2 separate regions of the Homo sapiens genome follow, and region 2 is linked to region 1. The links are contacts of gene promoters, found by promoter capture Hi-C in blood cells and fetal thymus (Javierre and others, 2016). All regions are on one chromosome and are shown on one strand. The core of a region is centred on a gene start or on the middle of the fragment in contact, and the rest is flanking DNA. Distances in the headings are between cores, read along the strand shown.

Evidence for each region. The method cuts DNA at HindIII sites, captures the fragments that hold promoters and counts their contacts. A CHiCAGO score of 5 or more calls a contact.
Region 2: the fragment with the promoter of ATOSB here is called in contact with the fragment with the promoter of ZCCHC7 in region 1 in 1 of 17 cell types (monocytes); the score reaches 5.2 in monocytes.

The regions. Positions count from the first base shown.
Region 1 is chr9:37,118,071-37,122,421 of GRCh38, forward strand. ZCCHC7 (zinc finger CCHC-type containing 7) reads left to right here and starts at 2,504. Exons shown (of 9, transcript NM_032226.3): 1 at 2,504-2,553. It overlaps LOC105376034 (a long non-coding RNA gene), which reads right to left and starts at 2,330. Exons shown (of 3, transcript NR_188580.1): 1 at 1,726-2,330. RefSeq lists an enhancer at 2,166-2,245. The HindIII fragment of the contact is 2,192 bases long and covers 1,970-4,161 here.
Region 2 is chr9:35,113,819-35,118,169 of GRCh38, forward strand. It overlaps ATOSB (atos homolog B), which reads right to left and starts at 2,044. Exons shown (of 9, transcript NM_025182.4): 1 at 1,987-2,044. RefSeq lists an enhancer at 26-855 and a silencer at 2,189-2,248. The HindIII fragment of the contact is 12,182 bases long and covers 1-4,351 here.

The DNA.
Region 1 (4,351 bases), core at 1,254-3,753:
CAGTTGTGTGCCACCACGCCTGGCTAATTTTTACTATTTAAAATTTCTTATTTATTTTTATTTTTATAAAAAGATTTGTTTTTTTAAATTTATTTTTATATAATTTTTTAATTAAGAAAAGGATCTTATTTTAAATATAGATGGGGTCTTCTTATGTTGCCCAGGCTGGTCTCCAACTCCTGAGCTCAAGCGATCCACCTGCCTCAACCTCCCAAAGTGCTGGGATTACAGCCATGAGGCACCTTGCTTGAGCTTTAAACATTTTTGTTCAGACGGTCTCATTCTGGAGTGCAATGGTGCGATCTCGGCTCACTGCAGCCTAGACCTCCGCAGTTCAAACCTCAGCCAGGAACAGCTGGGACTCCAGGTGTGGGCCACCACGCCCTGTTATTATTATTATTTTTTTGACACGGAGTTTCTCTCTTGCTGCCCAGGGTGGAGTGCAATGGCGCAATCTCGGCTCACTGCAACCTCCGCCTGCCGGGTTAAAGCGATTCTCCTGCCTTAACCTCAGGAGTGGCTAGGATTACAGGCATGCGCCATCACGCCCGGCTAATTTTGTATTTTTACTAGAGACGGGGTTTCGCCATGTTGGTCAGGCTGGTCTCCAACTCCTGACCTCAGGTGATCCGCCCGCCTCGGCCTCCCAAAGTGCTGGGATTACAGGCGTGAGCCACTGCGCCCAGTCGCCCAGTTAATTTTTAAATTTTTAAATTTTTTTGTAGAGACAGCGTCTTGCTATATTACCCCGGCTGGTTTCGAATTCTCGGCCTTAAGCTATCCTCCCACTTCGGGCTCCCAAACAGGTGAGAGCTACCCCATTAGCCAGGCAGGCATTCAAACTTTATCAGGCCCAGAGGGACTTGAGTATGGTACTTCAGTTAGCACCATCCCATGTAGGTGGTGGTGGGGGTGGGGGTGGGGGGTAGGGGTGTGTGGCAATTGTTTAAAGGCATTTTGTTCTTTTCTTCCCAGTACCTGCATCACCCTTTATCTTCGTGTTCCTAAAATTTGTGATAGAAAGAACAATGTGTAGCCAATGGATAGCTTATGTTATTTTAGTGTCAATTCTTGGTATGTAGTTTAGCAAAAGCCTCTTCTTTTTTCCTTTAAAAATTCACTCGTGGCCGGGCGCGGTGGCTCACGCCTCTAATCCCAGCACTTTGGCAGGTCGAGGCCAGGAGTTCGAGACCAGCCTGGCCAACATGGTGAAACCCCGACTCTACTAAAAATACAAAAATTAGCTGGGCGTGGTGGCAGGCGCCTGTAATCCCAGCTACTTCGGAGGCTGAGGCAGGAGGATGGCTTGAATCTGGGAGGCGGAGGTTGCAGTGAGCCGAGACCGCGCCATTGCACTCCAGCCTGGGCAACAACTGCGAAACTCCGTCTCAGGAAAAAAAAAAAAAAAAAAAAAAAAAAAACCATAAAGAAAGAAAAAAATTCACTCGTAGCTGCTACAAGAAGTGTAATGGCTCATGCCTGTGATCCCAGTGCTTTGGGAGACAGAGGTGGGAGGATCGATACCTTTAAGCCTGGAGCTTCACAAGACAAAGAACTCAGTTGAAACTGCTGCTTATCGGATCACATATTAAGGGCAACTTGAATTGATGATCCCAGGTTGCCCTCATCAAACTTGGCCCAAATAAATTCTCCACTTATATTAACTTTGCCTCAGTTTTTCCTTTAGGTCGACAGTTATTTCTAAAGTTCTACAGATGGGTTTACCTTGTATTAAAATAAGGTGTGAGAAGGGCAAATGAAGCCAGAGGCTCCCAGCACAATCTTGCAACCTTCAGAGACTTCCAAAGGATCAGCATTAACTCCAATATTTAGCAGGAGTGCAGCTCTTCGAGATTCACAAAGTGTTAATCTGTTGCCTAGAATTCCAGAGAGTTGGAGGCGCCCAGTGTGAACTGTGTTCCGCCTAAAAGAAAAAGCGACCAGCCTAAGATCATGAGCGCAAGGGAGAAGCTTGAAGCCATGCGCTCTCAAGTACGCGTTTCCCGCTGCCCAGGTCTGCGGGCCAAGCAGCCAGCCACGCTGGCCCTCGTCATGCACGCGATCAGCTAGGCTCCCGCGCCACGTGGCACTGAGAAGGCGTCCACCGAGCGCCAGGGAGAAGGAGGCGGAGCCCGGCCTCAACCTCGCCCGTGTCCTCATGGGGGTTGTAGTTTTCCTCGCGGGGGTAGAGGGCACGAACTCCCCGGCTTTTGCCCGGTAAATAGCATCTCCTTCGTACGAGTCATTCAAATAATAGATGCAGCCTAGGTAGCTTCAAGAGAAGTTGGGAAGGGGAAGGGGGAAAGCAAGGAAGGCAAACCTAATAATTATGGGCGGGGCAGAGAACGGTTCGCACCCACTACGCATGCGCACATCAGGCGCGGCAGGTGGGCGGGGACGGAAAGGCGGTGACTAGAGCTGTGTTGTCCCCGGAAGTGCCTTCCCTCCCGGGTCTGCGCGGACGCGGCCTCCTTACCTCATTTGTCCTCGCCCCTCCCCGTCCCTCTACGCGTTTTGGTTCCCGGTTGGTGCTTCCTGTTCGCAGCTGCGGCAGTGAGTATGTGTGTGACGGACCCCCGCCGCCCGCGGCTCGGGACCCCTGCCTACCCTCCTTCTTGCCCGCCGGGCTGTGGAACTAGCGCGTGCCCCCTCGCCGGCCTCGACGTCTCCCGTCCGCCCCTCACTCGTGGCAGGGCGCAGCTCCTGGTCCGTCACCTGCGCGCCGCCCCACGCGGCCGGGCTGCGGGTCTAGGGGGTCCGCGTCTCCCTGGCTTTCCAAGGGCTAATGCCGTGATTCTAGAGCGGCTGGGCGTCTAGGGCCTCGGTGAGGGTGGCGTGTCTGCCCTTTTTATTTCCCCGCAAGGCCCCCAGTCTTCTAGGGAAGCCAGTCAGTGAAGCGCGGAGGTCCCGGCGCGCCGAGAGAGAGTCCAGTCTTTGAGGACCGAGTAGTCCTGGGCCACCTCCCGCCTCTGCTGTCAGAAGCAGCAGCTGCAGCAGTAGAATCCAAAATTTCGGGAGCTGTGACCCTTTCCTCATGTAAAACGAGTAGACTTGGACTGTGTTTACTAAGGCGCCCTTTATCCCTCCCATCCTGTGAGCGGACAGTTGCCTTCAACTTTTGGGAAGAGCTGCTGGTTCGGTGGAAAAGCTGTGGCTGGGAATCAGGAGGCCTGGGTTCTAGCCGTGGCTCCCCCACGGATTCGCTGGCGATTCCAGAAAGCTCTTATTGAAGCTGAATTTAAGATTATTTCAGATTGCACAGTTGAATTACGGGCTGCATTAGTAGGGCCTTTTTAGCTCAGTGAATAAGTTTCTCTGAGCTCCTTTCTCCAACTATAAAACGAGAGCGTTCAATTTGATGACTTTTCAGGTCCCCTCAGAAGCTCTTGACTTTGTGGTTTTCTTTTTCTTTTTAAAATTTTTTCTAGGACCGTTAGAGAAATGACTTCGTGTTTGAATAGTTAGGCTGTCGCATACAAAGACTTTTAAATGGATTGTGTGTATACTTAGGAAAGCGTTATGCTTTCAGGAGAATCTGAGCATGGGGAATAAAGTCAGGAAGGATCGCAAGTGAGGATTATATTAATATGATAATTAGCACGGTAAGAGACTGCATGACCGAAGGAAAAGGGCTAAGGGAAAGGTGAAGGAAATGTTTCCGGATAGGATTAGTTCTCGTAAAAATCATATATATATCCCAAGAAGAGCTGGGACTTAAGTGACTAAATTTAGCTTATTTTTTTTCCCCCACTGAAATACTGTGCTCTGTTTGTCTTTTGTGACTTTTGTTTTACACATTTGGATTCTCCATCCCAATCAGATTTGATTCAGAGTGGCCATCGCATTTGAAAAATGGACAGACATTTTAACCCTTTAGACAATTGTGTTTCAACTGTCCTGTCAGGGCAGCTTACTAAGAGTAAGAAAAATTTTACTTTGAAAGTAAAGTGTATTCATCACATTCCAATGAAAATTGGACTGAAAATGAGGCTGTGGATTTGATTTAAATCGGCCGGAGATGGATGCGTGTGTCATCAAGAAGGAACATCTAGGGAGGCTAAAGATATTTGGAAGTAAATAAGAGCAAAAGGTCAGAATGACCAGTAGGTAGACTGTGAGAGCAGAAGGATTGATTAAAGACTGTGTTAAGTAAATGCTGAAAGCTTAAATAAGCCTTAAGTTGTCTAGTTTAAAACAATTCAGTCAATGAATACTGCTCCCTCTTTTGAATGGTAATAGCCTTTGCAGTTATTCTATAGCTGTTTTATATTTGTTAAGGTATTTTAATTCTTAGATAAGTTTCATTTGCATGATATTTTAAGATGTTATATAGGAAACATCTTTTCTGGTC
Region 2 (4,351 bases), core at 794-3,293, 2.0 Mb before region 1:
TTCGTTCATGCTCATATTCCCAGAGCCAACATTAGTCCCTGGCAATGTTCAATAAACATTGACTGAAGAAAACAACAGGCCCTGGGCTGAGTGAACAGCAATCCGGCGATCTGGATCCTATCTTCTGCCCTTTCACTGTGACATCTGGGGAATCACAGTCTCTTTAGCCATAAATTTCCAAACCTGTAAAATGAGGTGTTTGTATAAACAATGACTGCTGAGGGCCTCTGCAGCTCTACAATTCTAATGACTGTTGTTCACTCATCTCCATATCAGAGGATAGCTCCAGGCATTCGAATGCTCTGCTGCCTGTACCAAAGCAGAAAGGCTATATCCTCCAGTCTCAGCACAGCAAACTGATGCCCTTTCTCTTCATGCCCCACCCACTCACACAAACCGCCCCAGTCCTGAGGAAGCTGGAGAGTCTGCCCTAGGCCCGCCCTCTCTGAGAGACTGTCTGGGAAGCAGTGTTGCCATAGCAATCAGCTCCTCCTCAAAAGGCTTCAGCCTGCCCTTTTTTACCCCACCCTACCCCAGGGCTTTGTCTGTCCTCAGCAGACCCACCCCCCTCCCCAGCCAGTCTCTCAGCTCCTGGGTGGTTGTGTGAGGAGGCTGGCTTGGGGCCCCTTTTAGCAACACTGTCACACTCATTTAGCCACTGTGTGGAACTCAAGCCTTTCCCACCCTCTCCCAGCCAGCCCAGGGGCAAAAAGAACTCTAGCACTCCATCAAATCCCCTCAGGGAAGCAGAGGAGCCCTCAAGAGAACTAGGTCCTAGCCTGTTCTGATAGTGCTTCCAAGCCTGGAGTGTGGGGAGCCACTCCCTCTTCCTCCCCTAGCTGTGGCTGGAACCTCACAACCCTTACTGGGTTCAGCTTACAGTCGTGGCCCACCTCTCAAAACAGACAGAAGACCCTCAATACTCCTCACCACTTCCCCCCTCCCACAGAAGCCCTAGCGTTCCCTACCCAGAAGGATAAGGGTGGGGAAAATCTGTTTGTGGCAAGTGGTTAAATGTGGCTACCAGTCACTTGGGGATCTATGCGAGAGACCTGGGTGGTAGTGGTGGGGGTGGGGTCTGAGCCCTGCCGCTGGTTACCAGGGTCTCTGGTCATTGATAACAAAGTACCGGGCAGGGCACAGCTCCTAGATGGGCAAGGGCCAGGCCAGGCCCTGGGGCAAGGAAGGAAGTGGGAAATGAGCACACCCAGAGCATAAGGGCAGGGCGGGGGAGGGGGGAGACAGAGACCAAGGCCGGCTCTGGGAGGAACAGGAACTAGGATGGGGGGTTGACAGGAACCCAGCGGGGGAAGGGTCCCCCGGGACCTCAGCTTAGGGAAGAAACCCCAGTCTCAGCTGGACAGATCCAAAATAGACTGAGGAGACATTCACACAAGCCCTAGTGACAAGCAGGGTCTGACTCCTCTCTGAGTGCCCAGGCCAGAAGGCGGAGTTAAAAGCTGAGCAGACAGGAGTGCAATAGATTGGCCTCTTCACCCCACTAACCCCAACACCCTTGCTCTTAGAACCCAGAACACAAGTGTCTTCCTGTAGTTACTACAATGCCCTAAACTGTTACTTTGTCAAAGTACTGGGGGTTCTGTTCTCCTGCCTCAAGTTGGGCCTACAACCCCTTCCCCTAGATAGTGCCCGCAGACCCTCCGACACCGCTACACTCCTTCTCCATTAAACAGCCCCCCTTCCTTCAAAGCACCTCCATGTCCCCTGCCCCTCATGTACCTCCTCCAACCCCCCACATCAGACAGAGACAGCCCCCTCACAATGTACCTCGCAACCCCCCCACAACAAAGCGCTCCCGCCCTTCCCCCATAGAGGCCTCTGGAGAATGCACCTTGTTGCCCACACATTGAGTCCCCAACTGCTCCCGCGACTTCGTATCTTCCCTCAACACACAGCAGTCTCCAGATCGTCTGCAAAGCGCACCCCCATCCGCGTCCCTTCTTCCACGCTCACCCTGCCCCACACCTGTAGTTCCGTGGGTCCCGTTGCACTTGGGGACGTGGTAGTGGTTGGGGCAGTTACTGAGCAGCCCTAGCTGTAGCCTCCGCCTGCAAACCTCGCCCCTTCAGTCTGAGCCCCGCCCCCGCAACGCCCGGGCCCACCCTCTCCCTTGTCCCACCTTCCACCTTCTGTGGACTTGTCCCTTTCCTCGTTTAATTTCTCGAGCTCCTCCCCTGTAGCCCGGGCCCCGCCCCCTTCTGACCTCGCACCTCCTTCGCGTTTTCTTTGCATTTCCCCAGGATCCTCAGCTTTTCCCAGGCCCCACCCCCGATCCCCGCCTCCTCTCGGTCTCTCCGCCTTTCACCAGGACCCGCCCCCTCGGATTCCAGCCTGGCAGAAGTCGCGCCAAGACCCTTCCACCACGATCCCCCTCCCATCTCAGAGCCCCTCCTCCTTCCGCCCCTTCTCCCTCACGCCTCACCCGGGCGGTCGCACTCCAACCAGGATCCGCTGGCTCTGATTGGCGGTGGCGGCCCCAAAGGAGGAAGGAGGAGACAAAGTGATGGTCGCAGGTCGCCTGAGGTCCCACCCCGGCCACGTGCGGCTTCTGTGATGACAAGTCTAGAGGGGCGGGGCCTCGGCCGGCAGGCTGCTAGCCTGAGCGGAGCGGATCAGGGCAGAGGTGGGGAGATGGAGCCAGGGCCAAAGCCACCAGCCTGAGGGCTCTGAGCCGGGTTGGGGCTATCTCGCTGCTTTCGCACCGGTGTGAGCTGCCGCCGGAACTCTAACCTCTTTGTAGGGATGTCTGGGTGGGCGCGTGCATTTGCACTAATAGGGGAGGTCCGTAGGGATTGCAAGGTAGTGCAAGGAATCTCAGGGGTCTGTGAAAATGAGGGAATCTGGGCGGTGGGGTTCAGGTCTGCGAGGTTGAGCAGTTTCTGAAGCCTACGCTGTGCAGGCGGGTGTGGGTTCTGGGATGGGATGGACAGTAGGAGTCAGATCAGTACCTACTGAGGCAGGTCAGCGAGATCTGTGAATTTTACGAGATGAGTGTTGATATGGAGTTAGGAGGGCCTGCAATTGCTGGAGAAAAGTGAGGCCTTTCCCTTGTACAGGTGTCTAATGAACTGCATGACAGTTACATATGTTCTGCAGTTTAAGCGGCGCCCTCTCCAACCTCTCCCCAGGAGATACAATAAGGGAGGGCGACGCTTCCCAGACACCGGTAGATGGCAGCACAGGACACTTGCAGAACTGAGACAGCCCAGCTCAGCGCCGATCTGTGGCCTCTCCGAGGAGCGGACCGTTTGGGTCTGGATTTGATCAAGTTCTACAAAAGTCACATTCTTTTTTATTTTTTTTTGAGACGGCGTCTCGCTCTTTCGCCCAAACTGGAGTGCAGTGGTGCGATCTCGGCTCACTGCAACCTCCGCCTACTGGGTTCAAGCAATTCTCCTGCCTCAGCCTTCAGAGTAGCTGGGATTACAAGCGCGCGCCACCAGGCCGGGCTAATTTTCGTATTTTTGGTAGAGACAGGTTTCACCATGTTGGCCAGGCTGGTCTCAAATTCCTGACCTCAAGCGATCCGCCCGCCTCGGCTGCCCAAAGTGTTGGGATTACTGGCGTGAGCCACAGCACCCGGCCAAATCTCAGATTCTTTAGGCTCTGTGACTTTGTCAGTAGTTAACTTAAACTGGTTTACTCAACGTCAGTGGTGTGGAAGCGCAAAAAAAAGAAAGAAAAAAGTATTTTCTCTGGCCATAAGGAACTTATTATTTAGACAGTGATACAAATGCCTACATAATCCCAGAAGGGTAAACTAAGAAAGGTTTTGGGTAGTGGGAAAACCACAGAGTTTGAAGTCATCTAAACTTCTTCAACTTCAACTTCAAACTTCAACTTATGGGTTCAACTTATGAGTTTGTCTCATACCTTTGAGTATTTACTAGCTGTATAGATTTAGGTAAATTATTTGACTTTAAAAAATTAATTTTAGAACAATTTTAGATTTACAGAAAACTTGTAAAAATAGTGCAGAGAGTTTTCATATATACCCTACACCTAGTTTCTCCTATTATTAACATCTTTCCTTATATGGTTCATTTATTACAATTAATAAGCCAATATTGATACATTAACAATAACTAAAACCCACACTTTATTCTGATTTTCTTTTTGTTTTTTTGAGACGGAGTTGTCGCTCTTTCACCCAGGCTGGAGTGCAGTGGCAAGATCTCGGCTCACTGTAACCTCCACCTTCTGGTTTCAAGAGATTCTCCTGCCTCAGCCTCCCGAGTAGCTGGGATTACAGGCATGTGCCACCACGCCTGGCTAATTTTGTATTTTTAGTAGAGATAGGGTTTCTCCATGTTGGTCAGGCTGGTCTCGA